Regions from separate parts of the Homo sapiens genome. Here region 2 is linked to region 1. Evidence: promoter capture Hi-C in human tissues and cell types (Jung and others, 2019). All regions are on one chromosome and are shown on one strand. The core of a region is centred on a gene start or on the middle of the fragment in contact, and the rest is flanking DNA. Distances in the headings are between cores, read along the strand shown.

Evidence for each region. The method cuts DNA at HindIII sites, captures the fragments that hold promoters and counts their contacts. A contact is called where the count stands out against the background at its distance.
Region 2: a contact is called between a fragment that was not itself captured here and the fragment with the promoter of BRF1 in region 1, in 1 of the 25 tissues and cell types used here (lymphoblastoid cells).

What each region holds. Positions count from the first base shown.
Region 1 is chr14:105,298,195-105,304,623 of GRCh38, forward strand. It overlaps BRF1 (BRF1 general transcription factor IIIB subunit), which reads right to left and starts at 2,807. Exons shown (of 18, transcript NM_001519.4): 1 at 2,252-2,807. The coding sequence starts at 2,435. It also overlaps the pseudogene LOC124903409 and a transcript of PACS2 not described here. RefSeq lists an enhancer at 1,549-1,628 and silencers at 2,479-2,888, 3,119-3,488. The HindIII fragment of the contact is 16,575 bases long and covers 1-6,429 here.
Region 2 is chr14:106,460,015-106,466,807 of GRCh38, forward strand. It overlaps IGH, the pseudogene HOMER2P1 and the pseudogene IGHV3-42. Among named protein-coding and RNA genes, the nearest start is that of LINC00221, 19 kb to the right of the region's middle. The HindIII fragment of the contact is 3,007 bases long and covers 3,792-6,793 here.

The DNA of each region.
Region 1 (6,429 bases), core at 1,557-4,056:
CAGGTAAGAATATGTGACCTGCAGAGATGCACAAACTTACTCTAAAATTAAAAAGAGAAAGGGAAATTAATAGCCACAACAACTTTGAAAAGGAAGAACAAAGGTTGAGGGACTCACAATATCTGATTTCAGGACAATATAACAGGTATAGTAAAAAAGCGTGTGATGCTGACAAAGGAAAACGGCACCTGATCAACAGGGCAGGACACAAGGCCCAGAGACAGACCTGCACGGACGGGGCCCAGTGAGCACAGCCGAGGGAGCAAAGGCCTTCAGTCTTTCAACAAACGGTGTTGAAACAAGGGGACCTCCAGATAAACAATGAGCCTCAGCCTACAAAGCACACCTTATACAAAACATAGATGGACCACAGATTTAGGCCAGGTGCGGTGGCTCGCGCCTGTAATCCCAGCACTTTGGGAGGCTGAGGCAGGCGGATCACTTGAGGTCAGGTGTTCAAGACCAGCCTGACGAACAGGGTGAAACCCTGTCTCTACTAAAAATACAAAAATTAGCCAAGTGAGGTGGCGCACGCCTGTAATCCCAGGTACTTGGGAGGCTGAGGCACGAGAATCACTTGAACCTGGGAGGCAGAGGTTGCAGTGAAACGAGATTGTGCCACTGCACTCCAGCCTGGGCCACAGAGCAAGATTCTGTCTCAAAAAAAAAAAAAAAGTTAAAACTTCTGCTTTGAGGCCGTGCGCAGTGGCTCACGCCTGTAATCCCAGCACTTTGGGAGGCCGAGGTAGGCGGATCACGAGGTCAGGAGATCGAGACCATCCTGGCTATCACAGTGAAACCCCGTCTCCACTAAAAAATACAAAAAAAATTAGCCGGGCATGGTAGTGGGCTCCTGTAGTCCCAGCTACTCGGGAGGCTGAGGCAGGAGAATGGCGTGAGCCTGGGAGGCAGAGCTTGCAGTGAGCCGAGATCGAGCCACTGCACTCCAGCCTGGGCAACAGAGCAAGACTCCATCTCAAAAGAAAAAAAACTTCTGCTTTGAAAATCACATATACAACAAAGGGCTTGTAACTACAATCCACAAAGAACTCCCAAAACTCAACAATAAGAAAACAACCCAAATAAAAAATGAGAGTCAGGGTGTGGTGGCTCACGCTGTAATCCCAGCAATTCGGGAGGCCAAGGCTGGAGTATCACTTGAGCCCAGGAGTTTGAGACCAGCCTGGGCAACATAGAGACCTTGTCTCTACTAAAAATAAAATAAAATAAATGATCACAGCATGGTGGCATGCACCTGTAGTCTCAGCTACTCAGGAGGTTGAGGCAGGAGAATTGCCTGAGCCTAGGAGTTCAAGGCTGCAGAGAGCCATGACTGGGCCATTGCACACCAGCCTGGGCCACAGAGTGAGATCCTGTCTCGAGATAAATAAAAAAATAAGACTTGAGCACACATTTCAACAAAGAGGATTCGGGCATGGCAAATAAGCACCCTAATAAGGTTGAACATCACTAGCCAGTAGAGAAATACAGAATACCACTATGATGAGATGCCACACACCTGTTAGAACAACCGAAATAAAAACATCGACAACACCAAGTGCTGGTGAAGATGTGGGGCAACTGGTGAGAATGCATAATGGCACAGCCACATCACAAAACAGTTCATGACAGTTTCCCATAGAGTTACACATACAGCTAAGTTCCCCAGAGAAATGAAAACGTATGTTCACACAGAGAGCTGCAAATGAATCCTTTTAGCAGCTCTATTCACAACCACCTGAAACTGGCCACAGTCCAGCTCCTTCCACAGGCTGGGGTCCATCCCCAGCCCGCAATACTGCCCATCACTGAAACGTCCCCTCCGAGGCCTGCAGCAGCCTGAGTGGCCCTAGGGCATCCGCCCGGTAACCACCAAGGCCAAGGGCAGCAGCAATCGGATTCTAAGTACCAGACATTGCTGAAAACAAAACTGCAGGCACAGAGAGTGACAGTGAGGGGCAGCTTGAGGGGCCTTCTGGGCTCCCCAGGCTCTCTTCAACCCTCCCTGTGCTGGCTGCCCTGGCCCACGCGTGTGTCGAGGAAGTCCACGCACGCCACGGGGGTCCACAGGCGCGCGAAGAAGGTCTACATTCTCGCCAAGGGGATCCACACTCGCGCCCAGACGGCGCAGAACCGCGCGCCCCGACAGAGCGTGCGGTACCGAGGCGCTGGTCCCGGCCGCGCCGTCACCGCCTCCAGCCCGCCTAAGCCGCACCGAGAAATCCGCGCAGCGCCAGCCCGCGGGACTCACCGTCCAGGGACACGAACTGGCCCACGGCCGAGGAGCCGCCGCCGCTGCTCTCCACGAACTGCACCTCGGACACGATGATGTTGTCCTCCAGCACTGAGCCGCAGGCGGTGCACACCGCGTCCCCGCGCGCCGCGTCCAGCTCGATGTCCGTGCCGCCGCAACCGCGGCACACGCGGCCCGTCATGCCGGCGACCGCGCGGGCAGCGCCCGGAGCCTCCCAAGACTCTCAAGCCACCCGAGCCTCCGGAGCAGCCCGCGCCGCCCGCCCAGGCCCAGCCGCCCAGGCCTCGCCGCTCTCGCGAGGCCCCGCTCCAGCCGATTCGCAGCCGCAGATTCGCCGCGCGCGCCCGGGCCGCGCCGCCCGCAACGGCCGCGCCCGCGGGATGGGACAGGCACCGGGACCACGGCGGGGACGCGAGGACTGGAGCCGCGACCTCCCCACTGCGAGCGAGCTGGCCTCCCTTGCGGCGCGCCGGCGTCGGAGGGGCGACCTGCGGGGGCTGGGCTTCGGCGGAACCCGAGCGGGGCCTACCGGTGAGCGCAGCCGAGGACTGGCGCTTGGGGGCGGGGCCACGGCGGTGAGCGCAGCCCGGGACTGGAGTTTGGGGCGGGGCCTCGTCGGTGGGCGACACCGGGGACTAGAGCTAAGGGTGGGGCCTCGCGGTGAGTGCAGCCGGGGACGGGACCCAAGGCTGGCGACGGGACCCAAGGCTGGCGACGCGACCTAAGGCAGTGGGCGGGCCCTTGGCGATGAACGCAGTCGGGGACTAAAGCTGGACGCGGGGCAGAGGAGGGTCCTCCTCGGATAGTGAGCGCGGTCTCCAGCGGCGAGCGAGGCCTGGGGTGAGGACTCAGCCGGATGCGGGGCTGAGGGTGGGGGGCGGGGCCTCCCGTGGAGAGACGGCCTGCGAAGGGAACTGGAGCTGTGGGCGGGGGAAGGGGGCGGAGCCTGGGTCTGGACCCGAACTGTGGGCGGGGCTTGAGGCGAGGGGGCCGAGCGTGGTGGGCGGGGCCTTGGCTCCTGAGGGCGACCTGGGACCCAACCCCGGGCTCTGGGAGTGGTGGGCGGGGCCAGGGCAGCTGCGCTGGGGGGCCTGGCCGCAGAGGTGGAGACACCCGCCAGGGGCCACCCTGCCCCGCCCTCCGCATTTGCGGCGTCCGCCGCTCCGCTCGCCCAGGTTCCAGAGCCTCCCCGTGCGCCCCGCTATTCTCCGTTTTCTGTTCCCCTAAAATTCCCACTTTCTAGCAGTCATTCGTGGCCACCTGTGGTTACCCGTGAGTCACCTCGCTGTGCCCCCTGCCCAGAGCGGGAACCCTGGCTGCGCACGCCCTCAAATATCTGCAGGTGCTGTTCACAATCGCCATAGGGCCGGTGACATACCCAGGAATGAGCCTAAAAAGAAATGCGTAACCAGGCGTAGTGGCTCACGCTTGTAATCCCAGCACTTTGGGAGGCCAAGGCAGGCGGATCACGTAAGGTGAGGAGTTCGAGACCAGCCTGGCCAACATGGCGAAACCCCGTCTCCACTAAAAATACAAAAAAATTAGCCAGGCTTGGTGGTGGGCGCCTGTAATCCCAGCTACTCGCGAGTCTGAGACAGGAGAACCACTTGAACCTGAGAGGTGGAGGTTGCAGTGAGCTGAGATCCCGCCATTGCACTCCAGCCTGGGTGACGGGTGACAAGAGTGAAACTCTGTCTCAAAAAAAAAAAAGAGAAAAAAGGAAATGCGGAAGACCCCACCCTCTTTTTTTTCTTTCTTTTTTTTTTTTTTTTGAGACGGAGTCTCTGCTCTGTTGCCCAGGCTGGAGTGCAGTGGTGAGATATCGGCTCACTGCAACCTCTGCCTCCTGGGTTTAAGCGATTCTCCTCTCTCAGCCTCCCGAGTAGCTGGGATTACAGGTATGCACCACCACACCTGGCTAATTTTGTATTTTTAGTAGAGACGGGGTTTCTCCATGTTGGTCAGGCCAGTCTTGAACTCCCGACCTCAGGTGATCCGCCCACTTCAGCCTCCCAAAGTGCTGGGATTACAGGCATGAGCCACCGTGCATGGCCCTATTTCATTAATTTCTGCTCTCATTTTTGTTAGATCCTTCTTTCCACTTAATTTGGTTCAATGTGTTCCCTTTTTCTAGTTTCTTCATTTTTTAAAAATTGAGATAGTGTCTCATTCTGTCACCCAAGGTGGAGTGCAGTAGCATAATCAAGCCTCACTGCAGACTCTACCTCCTGGGCTCAGGTGATCCTCCCACCTCAGCCTCCCGAGTAGCTGGAACTACAGGCATGTGCCACCACACCCAGATAATATTTTTTGTAGAGATGGGTTTTTGCCTCATTTGCCCAGGCTGGTCTGGAACTCCTGGGCTCAAGTGAGCCACCCGCCTTGTCTTCCCAAAGTGCTGGGATTACAGGCATGAGCCACTGCTCCCCGCCCTGTCCTCCCAAAGTGCTGGGATTACAGGCATGAGCCACTGCTCCCCGCCCTTTCTCTAGTTCTTTTTTTTTTTTGAGATAGAGAACACCCAGGCTGGAGTTCAGTGGTGCCATCTCAGCTCACTGCAACTTCCACCTCCCAGGTTCAAGTGATTCTGTCACTTCAGCCTCCCAAGTAGCTGGAATTACAGGCATGTGCCACCACGCCCAGCTAATTTTTGTATTTTTAGTAGAGATGGGGTTTCACCATGTTGGCTAGGCTGGTCCCAAACTCCTGACCTCAAGTGATCCACCTGTCTTGGTCTCCCAAAGTGTTGAGATTCTACACGTGAGCCAATGCACCCGGCCCCTTTTTCTAGTTTTTGTTTTGTTTTGTTTTTTGAGGTGGAGTCTCGCTCTGTCACCCAGGCTGGAATGCAGTGGTGCGATCTTGGCTCACTGTAACCTCCACCTCCCGGGTTCATGCCATTCTCCTGCCTCAGCCTCCCAAGTAGCTGGGACTACAGGTGCCCACCACCATGCCTGGCTAATTTTTTGTATTTTTAGTAGAGACAGGGTTTCACTGTGTTAGCCAGGATGGTCTTGATCTCCTGACCTCGTGATCCACCTGTCTCGCCCTCCCAAAGTGCTGGGACTATGGGCGTGAGCCATCGCGCCTGGCCTTTTCCTAGTTTTTTAAGGTGAAAGATGAAATCATTGATTTAAGATCTCTTTTCCTTTATAAATAGGCATTTTATTGCTATAATTCTCCCTGTAATTACCACTTTAGCTGAATCCTGCACATTTCAATGTGCTGTGTTTTCATTTTCATTCAGCTCAAGATTGTCTCCACTCTTAATTTCCTCCCGGATCCAAGGGTTATTAGGAAGTGTATTGTTTTGTTTCTAAATGTTGGGGATTTTTCAAATATGTATTATTGATCTCTATGCAAAATGCTCTCTGTCCATGATGACATTTCATCCTTATGGCAACACTAGCTTGCAGACACTGTTGTCTCCATTTTATGGAGGGAGCCCTTGAGGATGTGAGGGGTGACAGCCCCAAATCTCATAGCCAGTAGGTAACAAAGCCAGAATCCAATCTGAGGCCATGTGGCCACTGGATCCTTGCTCTCACCTGACAGACTAGAGGGGTTATTTCGTGTGCTCCCTCACCAAAGCCTGTGAGGTGCCTGCAGGTGCAAGGGGCAGCATGCCTCCCAGGCCACAGCGGTGCAGGACAGTCAGGCAGTACAGGACAGTCAGGCTGTACAGGACAGGATTGGCCAGAGGAGCAGAGGGTGGGGAAGACCACACCCACAACGGTAAGAGGTTTAAAGGGTGTGGTTTCAGCCAGGCTCGGTGGCTCAGGACTGTAATCCCAGCACTTTGGGAGGCTGAGGAGGGCAGATCACGAGGTCAAGAGATCAAGACCGTCCTGGCCAACATGGTGAAACCCATCTTTCCAAAAAATACAAAAATTAGCAGGTGTGATGGTGGGCGCCTGTAGTTCCAGCTACTCGGGAGGCTGAGGCAGGAGAATTGCTTGAACCTGGGAGGCGGGAGTTGTGGTGAGGCGAGATGGCGTCATTGCACTTCAGCCTGGACGACAAGAGTGAAACTCCATCTCACAATAAATAAAATAAAATAAAATAAAATATAAAAAAGGGTGAGGCTCTACTGGGCAATGGCCCAAGGTGCGTGCTGCCAGAACTAAGCCTTTGCTCAGATGGGCTGCAGAGGAGGGGTGCTATGGTCTGAATGT
Region 2 (6,793 bases), core at 4,045-6,544, 1.2 Mb after region 1:
ATCTGGTCTCGCACACACGCTTGGGACTCACAGGAGGGGCCTGGGCCTCGGCCAGCCCTAGTTATTGGTGCACAGTATGCAAGGCCTGGGCGGAAGTCAGGCAGGTTGTGGATCTTCCGGTCCAGCACCTCCGGGAAACTCTTCACCTCCACCCCCAGGTGGCGCTGTCTGGATTTGCTCTCCTCAGTGTCTCTCTTCAGGGAACGCACTTTGTCTTCCAGGTTTTGATCCTCTCTCTGCCGCCTCCATCTTCTCAGAGACACAGTTGCACTCACCTGAGCTGAGGAGTAGTTTTACTTTGCTTTTGGGGACTTCCACTCTTTCTCGTTTTCTCGGAGCTCCGCCTCCAGCTCCTCGATCTTCCTCTTCAGCTGCGTGTTCTTCTCCTCTCTGTGGATCTCACGGCCTCTTCCTCTGCTCCACGCTGGCCACCGACTCCTGCAGCGCCGTGGGCAGCCGGGCGTCGCTCTCCCGCCGGATCTGCAGCTCCATCTCCCACCTCTTCCCGTGGGCAGCTCTCTGCGTCGAGGCCGCCTTCAGCTTGTGGTTCCCAGACTGCAGGTGCGTGTCAGCTGCAGCGGCCTGAGAGGCCTTTCATCGTCCGTCCCGTTGACACTGGATGCCGGAGTAGAAGATGGGGCTCCATGCCCGGATTCTCGGGATTATTACTCGAGGGCTCCATGTTCTCCTGGGTCTTGTCTTTGGCTGTCTTGGCCGCTTCCTCCACCTCCTGGAATTTCTCTGCAAACTTTGTCAGCTGCTGCTCAGAGGAAAACCCCAAACCAAACACCGTGTTGGCTCTGCTGTCGGCCCACTGCCCAGACGTCTGTGACACATTGGTGAAGGTCATATTCGGTGTGATTGTGCTGTTTATGGTCACCTTGGCTCCGTCCACACTGACGATCCCATAGATGTTCCTTGTGACATCATAGAAGTAAGAAACGGTGACCGCCTGTTGCTCGCAGGCATCCAGTGCTTTTTGGTGTTGGGGTCAATCTGGAAGACCTGTGCTCCGGTGGTGAAGATGGGCTGTTCTTCCATCCCCGGCACTGCTCCGGCGGCCACTCCGACCCGGCCTCTCACGCTCACTGTCCGCCCGCTTGGCGTCTGCTACCGGCGCGGCACGTGCGGAGGCCCCTGCGCGCCTGGCTCAGCCCAGGCGCCGCTCCATTCCACCAGGCGCGGGCAGGCAGGGGCTCTCGAAAAATCATTCTAAGAGATAAATTAAAAGAGTAATCTGTAATAAGGGGAATAATCTGTAATAAGCATTCCAACTCAGAAAAAAACTGAATATATGTAATACATATAAACTCCTGAGAAGAAAGGTCGAAGCACAAGAAGGGTCTCATGTGTAGCAGGTTGTAATATGTTTATTGTTAAAATTATTACCTTCATTTTTTTTTTTTAAAAAAAGCAAAGCATAATGAAATTAAGTTTTTGTGCTTATCTGGTACAACAGCCTGTTGAGAAAAATGAAGAGCCCTGTAATCCTGAGGAGGGGGCTTAATCCAAAGAGAGATGCTCCAGGTCCTGTGCACATGAAAGATTTGCCTGCTTCTGCCCATCCAGGAGCTTACTTCCTGAAGCCTTTGAAGCCTTCAGGAGGCAGGAGGCTGAATGAGTTTCTCAGGACAATCTAATCATATCCTGACAGGGAGAAAAAAATCATGACCTAGGACGGATTAAAAAATGTATAATTAAAATTTCATTGAAAATTGAGAAATTTTGACTATGTATTTATAGAGTGCAAAGCTATGTTATGATTTATGAATGCAATATGGAATAACTGAATCTAGCTAATTGACATATATATCAACTCAAATCCTCAAATCCTTATTGTGTGTGTTTGTGTGACAGGGACATTTGAAATTTGTTCTTGGCCATTTTAAAATGACCAATACACTATATTTAAGCTTACAAATAGATACCAATTTATGTAAACTATAGAGAATCATTGCAATGAATAATGGATTACTATAATTTATATTTAGTTAATCATTAAGTTTCATTCATTAGGACATATTTTATAATGATTTTATTATATTAAATATAAAAGACTAGACATGTATGCATAAGTTTGTGTATTTACACATATGTCTACAGATGTAAATTAATGTCGCCATAGCTATGTAGTTGAAGATATCAACAGATGTTAATACAACCTAGGAGAATAAGTGCATATTATTAGGAAGAATTATTTTTGAAGGATTTTTTTTATTCTTTAAGTTTTAGGGTACAGAGAAATGCAAATCAAAACCACAATGAGATACCATCTCACACCAGTTAGAATGGCAATCATTAAAAGGTCAGGAAACAACAGGTGCTGGAGAGGATGTGGAGAAATAGGGAACACTTTTACACTGTTGGTGGGACTATAAACTAGTTCAACCATTGTGGAAGTCAGTGTGGCGATTCCACAGGGATCTTGAACTAGAAATAACCATTTGACCCAGCAATCCCATTACTGGGTATATACCCAAAGGATTATAAATCATGCTGCTATAAAGACACATGCACACATATGTTTATTGTGGCACTATTCACAATAGCAAAAACTTGGAACCAACCCAAATGTCCAACAATGATAGACTGGACTAAGAAAATGTGGCACATATACACCATGGAATACTATGCAGCCATAAAAAATGATAAGTTCATGTCCTTTGTAGGGACATGGATGAAGCTGGAAACCATCATTCTCAGCAAACTATTGCAATCACAAAAAACTAAACACCGCATGCTCTCACTCATAGGTGGGAATTGAACAATGAGAACACATGGACACAGGAAGGGGAACACACACCGGGGCCTGTTGTGAGGTGGGGGGAGGGGGGAGGGATAGCATTAGGAGATATACCTAATGTTAAGTGACGAGTTAATGGGTGCAGCACACCAACATGGCACATGTATACATATGTAACAAACCTGCACGTTGTGCACATGTACCCTAAAACTTAATTTTTAAAAATACCCCTACATATAAATTTAAAAATTACTAAAACACAAATCCCAATTTTAAAAAATCATGATAAATAACCATAGTAAAATATCAAAACCTCATAAGACTCCATATTCCTGCAAAAACAAACCCGCCTCCTGCAGCTGAGAAAGGAAACCTCCCCCTGCACCCGCCCCTGGGACCTGTCCCATCCTCAGTGGGTCCCGAGCGCCCCCAGTTGGCCCTGCGCGCCCCTGCAGGGAGATTTGTGTATGGGCCTACGTTAACCTCCCCCTCACTGTCTCTAGTACAGTAATAGATGGCCGTGTACTCGGTTTTCAGGGTATTCACTTGCAGATACAGTGTGTTCTTTGAATCATCTCTTGAGATGGTGAACCTGCCTTTCACAGATGCAGCGCATTCTGTCGTGTAACTGTTACGTTTGGTTCTAATACGGCCAACCCACTCCAGCCCTTTCCCAGAAGCCTGGCGGATCCAGTGCATTCAGAAGTCACTGAAGGTGAATCTAGAAGCTGCAAATGAGAGTCTCGGGGACCCACCCAGGCTGTACCAAGCCTCCCCCAGACTCCACCAGCTGCGCCTCACGCTGGACGCCTGCAAACACAGAGACACCCTGGTCAGAAACGGCCACACATATCTACTGTTTCTCTCACTCATGTCCACTCGCACTCAACATCTCTCATTCTCCATAAATCACCTTCAAACTCCGAAACAACATTATACTGAATAGGAATATGTTGAAAGTATTCCTCCTAAGACTCAGAACACGTCAAGGATGCCCACTTTCACCACTCTTAATCAATATGGAACTTGAAATCCTAGCCAGAGAAATTAGGCAAGAGAAAGAAATAAAGGCACTCAAATTGGAAAAGAGGAAGTCAAACTCTTTGTGTTTGCTGATAATATGATTTTGTACTTAAAAAAACTAATATTCTTTCAAAATACTCCTAGAATTGATGAGTTAATTCAGTAAAGTTTTAGAATAAATGAAAAAAGCATACAAAAACCAGTAGCATTATTATACACAAGTAACAATCAAGTAACAATCTAGCAGAAAGCCATAGATGAGTGGAACAGAATAGACATTTCATAAATAAAGTCAAATGCCTGCAGCCAAACTGACTGTGAAAAACTAGACAAGAAGCATACACTGGGAACAGGTCACCTTGTTATATAAATTGTGCAGGAAAAACTGAACAGCCATTTGCAGCAGAATAAAACTGGACCCGTATCTCTCACTATATCCAAAATTAAGCCAATATGGATAAAAGACTTAACTGGGAGACCTGAGAGTCTGAAAGTTGCAGATGCTATTCTAGGAAATATTGTTCTGGAGATTGTCCTAGGCAAAGAATTCATGACTACAACCTTAAAAGTAAACAATAAAAACCGAAATAGACCATTTGGACTTAATACAAATAAGAAGCAAAGCATCTGAACAGCAAAACAAATAATCAAAAAACTTAACCGAAAGCGTACAGAATGGGATAAACTATTTTTAAACTCTGTATCTGACAAAGAGCTAATATTTACAAACTACAAGAAACAAAAGCAACACAAAAACCCACAAATAACCACATTAAAAATGAGCAAATTACTACAATGTTTATTTTTCAAAAGACAAAAAAATCATCAACCAGCATATGAAAAAATAATCAATGACATTAATCATCAGAAAAATGCAATTTAAAGACACAGTGAGATACCATCTTATACCAGTCAGAAAAGCTACTATTAAAACAGTCAAAAAGAAAAATGGAACAAAACAAAAAACAGATGCTAGTAAGGATGCAGAGAAGCAGGAGTGCTTATACACTGCTAGTGGAAATGTAAATTACTATAAGCTCTATGGAAAACAGTATGGAGATTTTGCAAATAATTAATATTGGAACTAATATTTCATTCAGCAGTCCCACTACTGGGTATCTACCCAAGGGAAGATAAATTATTATATCAGATAGATGCCTGCATTTATATGTTTATTGCTGCTCTATTCACAATAGCAAATACATGGTACCAAACTAAGTTTCTATTAGTAAATGATTAGATAAAGGAAACAGTCGTATATGTTCATACATATACATATATGTACACACACATCCCCACACATACACACACTATACATGTGTATGTACATATACACATTTAATTACTACTCAATAATAGACAAGGAATGAAATTATGTATTTTCCAGTAGCATGGATGAAACTGTAGGCCACTATCTTAAGTTAAAGAACTCAGAAGAATAAAGTTGAATACCACATGTCATATATAAGTGAGAGCTAAATAATATGTACACATGGATACAGAGTGTGGAATAAGAAATATTGGAGACTTGGAAGGTTGGGAGGGTGGGAGTGGCATGTGGGATGAGAAGTTACTTAATGGGTACAATATACACCATCCAGATGATGGCTATACTCAAAGCCCAGATTTTATCCCTCAACAATATATCCATGTAACAAAACGGCACTTTCACCCCATAAATTTATACAAATAAAAGGATAAGTGATACATATCCCAATTATCACAAACCCACTCCAGAATGTCTTATACATACACACACAGCATTACCACTACTTTATTGTAGTGTTCCATTTTTTTCACTTAAAAGAGAAAGGCAATCTCCATTGTCAGGGTAAATACACTTTGGAGAAGCTGTTATCCAGTAGGCCAGGGCAGTGCAGCTCTCCCATCAGCAACCACAAAGCTTTGTGTTTGGGTCATGTACATTCATCTACTATTGTTCTGTAGTAGTCTCTGGGCACAACATTGGCCCACACATTCTCCTCCATTCTAAGGGACTCAAAACAGAATCCACTTTTACACTAGTCATTCTCCAAATCCAGATTAACAAAAATTAGTAAAGAAGCAAAAGATAAAACTCAAAAAGAGAGAACCCATCTCACTATCCTCCCATATTTCAGTCGTTTCATGCCTTACCCTCCCTATTTCACCACCTGAGCCCCCTTCTGGGTGGGTAGAGTTTGTGAAGCTTTTATCTTTTATCACAGTGTAATTGCTAACTCTAGTGGTCATGAGCCCATCAGCCCTAAATGAAAATGGTCAAAATCTGAGGTTGGTGCAGTATCCCTCTCCCTGCCAACTCTCTCCTGGATTTTCACTTAGTTCTCACAGATGGAAATTGCATATGTAGGCTATTTCTAATCATTTCACATTTCATTATGTATTGATTGAGCCAGCTCCTTGGGAGTTGGATTTATAATTTCTAAATCCCATTTACCTCCAGAAACCGATTTCAGCTCAGCTGCTGTAATAGACTGTAGTATTCTGTCACTCCCCAGGTATCAAATTTTGCCATTCCATACCTGAACACTTACGTTTTCCATGCAATGCTTCAGCCATGTATCATCATTGAGTCAGGGTCTCTCTAGGAAATCCTTCTTCTAACACAACTGTGTTGAGAGTTCTCATCTGCCACCTGTAGGCTGAAAAATCAGTAAAAACATAGGACTCATAACTGTTCTATTCACAGGAACAGTTTATTACAGAAAAATGATACAATTTAAAATAAGTAAAGACAAAAGGCACAAGGAGTGAAGCCCTGGAGAATCCAGGCACAAGCTCTCAGGTGTCCTCTCACAGTGGAGCCTTCTACACATGTGTAATTGTTCAGCTGTGAGGTAAGATGGCTTGTGTGAAGTGTTGACAACAAGGGGAGTGCCGCTGAGCTCTCTTGTCCAGGGCTGTGTTTGGGGAATGAATCATAGACTATGGAACACCTGGGGAACTGACCACAATACTCAGACGACAGCCCTCTCCAGCAAAACAAAAGTAGACATTCACTATAAATCACTGATTAAACTTGTACCG